Linked DNA regions of Homo sapiens: region 2 is linked to region 1. Evidence: promoter capture Hi-C in human tissues and cell types (Jung and others, 2019). All regions are on one chromosome and are shown on one strand. The core of a region is centred on a gene start or on the middle of the fragment in contact, and the rest is flanking DNA. Distances in the headings are between cores, read along the strand shown.

The links. Contacts are between HindIII fragments. The study calls those that stand out against the background at their distance.
Region 2: a contact is called between a fragment that was not itself captured here and the fragment with the promoter of MAP3K10 in region 1, in 1 of the 25 tissues and cell types used here (pancreas).

Annotation. Positions count from the first base shown.
Region 1 is chr19:40,190,152-40,193,333 of GRCh38, forward strand. It overlaps MAP3K10 (mitogen-activated protein kinase kinase kinase 10), which reads left to right and starts at 1,275. Exons shown (of 10, transcript NM_002446.4): 1 at 1,275-2,562. The coding sequence starts at 1,881. RefSeq lists an enhancer at 503-742 and silencers at 903-1,402, 1,673-1,972. The HindIII fragment of the contact is 11,839 bases long and covers 1-3,182 here.
Region 2 is chr19:39,058,372-39,061,727 of GRCh38, forward strand. No RefSeq gene overlaps it. Among named protein-coding and RNA genes, the nearest start is that of ACP7, 24 kb to the right of the region's middle. RefSeq lists an enhancer at 134-635. The HindIII fragment of the contact is 6,146 bases long and covers 1-3,356 here.

The DNA.
Region 1 (3,182 bases), core at 25-2,524:
TCTGCGGGACCTACTTTCCTCATTCTTTAAATAGAAAGGCAGTGGGTTTTTTGTTTGTTTGTTTTTTGTTGTTTTTTTTTTTGTTGTTGTTGTTTTTGTTAATCGTGGCGATGGTTATTTATTTATTTATTTATTTTGAGACGGAGTCTTGCCCTGTCGTCCAGGCTGGAGTGCTGTGGCGTGATCTTGGCTCACTGCAACCTCCACCTCCCAGGTTCAAGCGATTCTCCTGCCTCAGCCTCCCGAGTAGCTGGGATAGATTACAGGCGCACACCACCACGCCCGGCTAATTTTTTTTTTTTTTTTTAAATAGTAGAGACGGGGGTTTCACCATGCTGGCCAGGCTGGTCACGAACTCCTGGCCTCGTGATCCGCCCGCCTTGGCCTCCCATAGCGCTGAGATTACAGGCGTGAGCCACCGCGCCCGGCCTGGTTGTTAATTTTTAAAACTGCCTTTCATTTTTGCTTTGCCATTTATAGCTCTGTAGCCTTGCACAAATGACTTCACTTCTCTATGAGTCATCTGTAAAATGGGGCTCTTTGTGAAGACTTAACGATACCACGTGTACAAAGCACTGAATACAACATGCACATTAAGCTCCCCGAAATTGAAACTCCTATAAAATAGGAATCGGGGATTCTCAAGAGCAGGAGTTCTGACTTCAGCAGAGGAACCCAGAGCTGGTGGGGAAAGCAGACGTGGCTGTGACATCCCCAGGGACACTAAACACATCCTCCCAGCCCCATCTTCCCCGCAGAGTCCCGCCACCGGCCCGACCCCTAACTTGCTCCAACCACCCGCCGACGCCCGCAGCCCGCTGTTTGGGGGCCGCCCCCTGCAGCGCCAGGTCCCCGCGCGGACTACAGTTCCCAGCGTACATCTCGGTCGGGGGGTCCGAGGGGCCGTCCTGCCTCAGGGATAAGGTCCAGGCTGCGTTCGCGGCTCCGGGCAGTCACAGTCATGCACGCAGCTCCTATTTTTCGCGTTGCTAATCGCGTCCGTTGCAGTCCAACCCATCCTGGGCCGCGGCCCCCACAGGGTCTGTGAGGAGCGCTTCCCCCCGCCCCGGGCGCCCGCTACGCCGCGTCCGAAGGAGGGGCCGAGGCCGGGCTCATCTCCCCGGGAGGACTCCTTCGGCTTCGTGGGGTGTCATGTCCATTGCGGCCCGAGGCTGGCCGCGGGGCTCTGCTGGAGGGCGCTGAGAGCCGGGCCCCGAGGCCGCACGGCCGGAGACTACAACTCCCAGGAGGCACCGCGGCGGCGGCGCCCACACGTCACTCGGGCCCCGCCGGTGGCCCGGGGAAGCAGCACGGGCGGGGGGCAGGGGCTGGGGCCGACCGGGAGGCCGGTGCCAAGGATGGGGGCCGCCCGGCTGCCCCGCGCGTGAGGAGGCCGAGGGGCGCGCCACCCCGGCCCGGGGCGGCCGCCCCAGGGGCCCCGCCACCCCCGCCCGGCCCGGCAGTCGTGGCCCGGGATGCGGAGCCGGGGGCCGCCGGTGGAGCTGCGCGGGGTGAGCGGCGCGGGGAACGGGGACTGCCTGCCGCCCTCGCCCTCGTCCCCCACCGGCGGACCCCGGCGGGCATTCGAGAGCCGCGCGGCCAGGCCCTCTTAGCCCTCTGCCGTTTGGGGGGCACGGGTGAACCTGCCGCCCCACTCCCACCCCGCCCCGCCCCGCCCGTACAGCCAAATCGGAAGGGACGAGCCTGCCCTTTGAAAGGGTTTTTTTTCTTGCTCCTGCGGAGGGCGCCCCAGCCATGGCCCTCAGGAGCTCCCTAGACCCCGCAGGGACTGCCCTCCATCCCGGCCGCCGGGGCCCGCCCTCTGCATCCCGCGGGCAGCCTGTGTGAAGCGGCCTCCCGCAGCCCCCGGCCCCTCCCCCATGGAGGAGGAGGAGGGGGCGGTGGCCAAGGAGTGGGGCACGACCCCCGCGGGGCCCGTCTGGACCGCGGTGTTCGACTACGAGGCGGCGGGCGACGAGGAGCTGACCCTGCGGAGGGGCGATCGCGTCCAGGTGCTTTCCCAAGACTGTGCGGTGTCCGGCGACGAGGGCTGGTGGACCGGGCAGCTCCCCAGCGGCCGCGTGGGCGTCTTCCCCAGCAACTACGTGGCCCCCGGCGCCCCCGCTGCACCCGCGGGCCTCCAGCTGCCCCAGGAGATCCCCTTCCACGAGCTGCAGCTAGAGGAGATCATCGGTGTGGGGGGCTTTGGCAAGGTCTATCGGGCCCTGTGGCGTGGCGAGGAGGTGGCAGTCAAGGCCGCCCGGCTGGACCCTGAGAAGGACCCGGCAGTGACAGCGGAGCAGGTGTGCCAGGAAGCCCGGCTCTTTGGAGCCCTGCAGCACCCCAACATAATTGCCCTTAGGGGCGCCTGCCTCAACCCCCCACACCTCTGCCTAGTGATGGAGTATGCCCGGGGTGGTGCACTGAGCAGGGTGCTGGCAGGTCGCCGGGTGCCACCTCACGTGCTGGTCAACTGGGCTGTGCAGGTGGCCCGGGGCATGAACTACCTACACAATGATGCCCCTGTGCCCATCATCCACCGGGACCTCAAGTCCATCAACAGTAAGTGGTGTCCTCTCCCCAAAATTCCTTCCACAGAACCTCTCAAGGCCAGGCCTAGGTGGTGGGAAACAGGGTGAGGGACACCAGATGACACTGTGCCTGGAGTGAGAAGGGGCAGCAGTATGATACCTTCAGGGTGAAGGTGAGGTAGGCCTTGCCTGCCTTAAGGGAGAAAAAGGAGGCTCAGAAAGGTTGAAGGACTTACCTGCCTCCCAGGCTGCAGAGTCACAATCGCTCAGTAAACATGTATCCATGAACACCTGCGTTCCCTGCATGAACAGGACAGATGCAGTGCCTGCCTTCAAGGTGCTTGCCATCCAGCCATGCTGCCAGAGTCCACCAGGCAGAGACAAAAAGAGCCTACCCCGTCTGGAGTCAGTGTCTCTCAACCCCAGCACTATTGGCACTTGAGGCCAGATCATTGTTGTAGGGGCTGTCCTGTAAATTGTGAGTTGCTTAGCGGCATCTTTAGCCTCTTCCCACTAGATGTCATTAGCATTCCCTGCCCCCTCTCCCCAGCTATGACAACCAAAAGTGTCTCCAGGCATTGCAAATGTCCCCTGGGGGGCAGAATCACCCCCAGTTGAGAACCATTTCCTGGAGTCTTCATAGGCCGAGCT
Region 2 (3,356 bases), core at 719-3,218, 1.1 Mb before region 1:
AGATCTTGGCTCACTGCAACCTCTGCCTTCTGGGCTTAAGCGATTCTCCTTCTTCAGCCTCCCTCCCAAGTAGCTGGGATTACAGGCGTGCGCCAACATGACTTGCTAATTTTTTTTTTTTTTGTATTTTTATTTTTATTTTTTTTTGTTTTTTATTATTATTTTTTTTTAATTTATTTTTTTATTGATAATTCTTGGGTGTTTCTCACAGAGGGGGATTTGGCAGGGTCATGGGACAATAGTGGAGGGAAGGTCAGCAGATAAACAAGTGAACAAAGGTCTCTGGTTTTCCTAGGCAGAGGACCCTGCGGCCTTCCGCAGTGTTTGTGTCCCTGATTACTTGAGATTAGGGATTGGTGATGACTCTTAACGAGCATGCTGCCTTCAAGCATCTGTTTAACAAAGCACATCTTGCACCGCCCTTAATCCATTTAACCCTGAGTGGACACAGCACATGTTTTTGTATTTTTAGTAGAGACGTGGTTTCACCATGTTGGCCAGGCTGGTCTTGAACTCCTGGCCTCAGGTGATCGGCCCATCGTGGCCTCCCAAAGTGTTGGGATTACAGGCATGAGCCACTGCACCTGGCCAAGGAGCCTCCATTTTAGATGGTAAGTTCAATTTGGGGGTGTTGGGAAGCCCGCTGCGGCCACCCAGCTAAGCCTTTACCAACAGGCTGATATATATTTTTTTAATTTTTAATTTTTGTAGGTGTACTTATTTATGGGGTAAATGAAATGTTTTGATACAAGCATGGAATGTATAATAATCACATCCTGGAGAATGGGGCATCCATCCCCTCAAGCATTTATCCTTTGTGTTACAAACAATCCAATTATACTCTTTCAGTTATCTTTAAATAGGCGAGTTATTATTGACTATAGGCGCCCTGTTGTGTGATCAAATAGTAGGTCTTATTCATTATTTCTATTTTTTTATACCCACTAACCATCCTCTCCTCCCCCCAACCTCCACTATCCTTCCCAGCCTCTCTATGTCCATGAGTTCAATTGTTTTGATTTTTAACTCCCACAAATAAGTGAGAACATGTGATGTTTGTCTTTCTGAACCTGGTTTATTTCACTTAACATAATGGTCTCCAGTTCCATTCATGTTGTTACAAATGACTAGATCTCATTCTTTTTTATGGCTAAATAGTACTCCACTGTGCATATGTACATTTTCCTTATCCATTCATCTGCTGATGGACACTTAGGTTGCTTCCAAATTTTGGCTACTGTGAGCAGTGCTGCAATACACATGTCAGTGTAGATATTTCCTTAACAGATACACTGATTTCCATTCTATGGGGTATATACCCAGCAGTGGGATTGCTGGATCATATGGTAGCTCAAATTTTTAGGTGTTTTGTTTTTTTTTTTTTTTTTGAGACAGAGTCTAGCTCTGTCCCTCAGGCTCAAGTGCAGTGGTGTGATCTTGCTCACTGCAACCTCTGCCTCCCAGGTTCAACTGATTCTTCTGCCTCAGCCTCCTGAGTAGCTGGGATGACAGGCATGCACCATGACGCCTGGCTAATTTTTGTATTTTTAGTAGAGACGGGGTTTCACCACATTGGCCAGGCTGGTCTTGAACTCCTGACCTCAAGGGATCCACCTGCTTTGGCCTCCCAAAGTGTTGGGATTACAGGTGTGCGCCACTGCGCCCAGCCTCAATTTTTAGTTTTTTGAGGAACCTCCAAACTGTTCTCCACGGTGGTTGTACTAATTTACATTCCCACCAACAATGTACGAGGGTTCCCTTTTCTTCACATCATTGCCAGCATTTGTTATTGCCTGTCTTTTGGATATAAGGCACTTTAATTGGGGTGAGATGATATATCTCACTGTAGTTTTGATTTGCATCTCTCTAATGATCAGCGATGTTGAGCCCCTTTTCATATGCCAATAGGCGGATATTTCTAGCTGTCTGTGTGATTCCTGGGTCTACTTCTCCAAAATCAGACTGGAAGCAGAGAGGCAGTGTGGAGAGCAGATAAGAGTCAGGGCTCTGCTGCCAGACTGCCCGAGTTCAAATCCTGGCTCCACCTCTGGCTCACTGGGGGGACTTTGAGCATGCCACTCAGTCTTTCTGACCTCAGTTTCCCCCTGTATAAAATGGGGATGATAATGCTACCTATCTCATAGGGTTGTGGAGAGGACCAAATGAGCTAGTATGGGGTATTTCATGGATCCACGGAATTGGGATGGGTGTTAAAATAGATGATCTGTTGTGGTTTAATCAACAGTGGTCTTTTTTGCTTCCTTTTTTTTTTTTTTTTTTGAGATGGAGTCTCACTCTTGTTGCCCAGGCTGCAGTACAGTGGCGCAATCTTGGCTCACTGCAGCCTCTGCCTCCTGGGTTCAAGCAATTTTCCTGCCTCAGCCTCCTGAGTAGCTGGGATTACAGGCATGTGCCACCACGCCCGGCTAATTTTGTATTTTTAGTAAAGATGGGGTTTCTCCATGTTGGTCAGGCTGGTCTCGAACTCCTGACCTCAGGTGATCCACCTGCCTCCGCCTCTCAAAGTGTTGGGATTACAGGCGTGAGCCACTGCGCCTGGCCTTTTTTATTTTTATTTTTATTTTTTTTTTAGATAGAGTCTTCCTCTGTCGCCCAGGCTAGAGTGCAGTGGCACGATCTCGGCTCACTGCAACCTCCGCCTTCCGGGTTCAAGTAATCCTCCCGCCTCAGTCTCCTGAGTAGCTGAGATTACAGGTGTCTGCCACCATGCCCAGCTAATTTTTGTCTTTTTAGTAGAGACAGGGTTTCACCATGTTGGTCAGGGTGGTCTCAAACTCCTGGCCTCAGGTGATCCACCTGCCTCGGCCTCCCAAAGTGTTGGGATTGCAGGTGTGAGCCACTGCACCTGGCTGCTTTATTTTTTTCTTTCTAAGATGGCTCTTATGCACAGAGCACCTTAGAGTTGGTGTAATAGGGCACATGGGAAGGCTAAGAGCAGTGCTTGTAGCACAGAAAGTAGCATGTGACTGTTGATCAGTATCATTACTGTTAATTCCCCTCAAACACCCCACAGCTCCCTCCGCTCTCTTGAGGGAGTCCCGCAGAAAGACAGCTTCTCTCTCTCTCTCATTCTGTCTTTCTCTCTCCCTTGCCTCTGCTGAACTCAAACAAGAAAGCGTGTTGCAGTGGTGTTGGCAGCCTTTCACTTACAACCTTATCTTCAGGATGAAGATAAAACTAGATAGAGATTGCAGAGCAGAGAAACGGGAACCCAGGATGCCAATGACATCAGTGAGCATCTGGACAGACTACACATCTTCTGTGGGTTTCCTGTTACTTGCAGCCCAAAGCATTCATATGTGGAGTGTGTGTGTGTGTGTGTGTGTGTGTGTGTG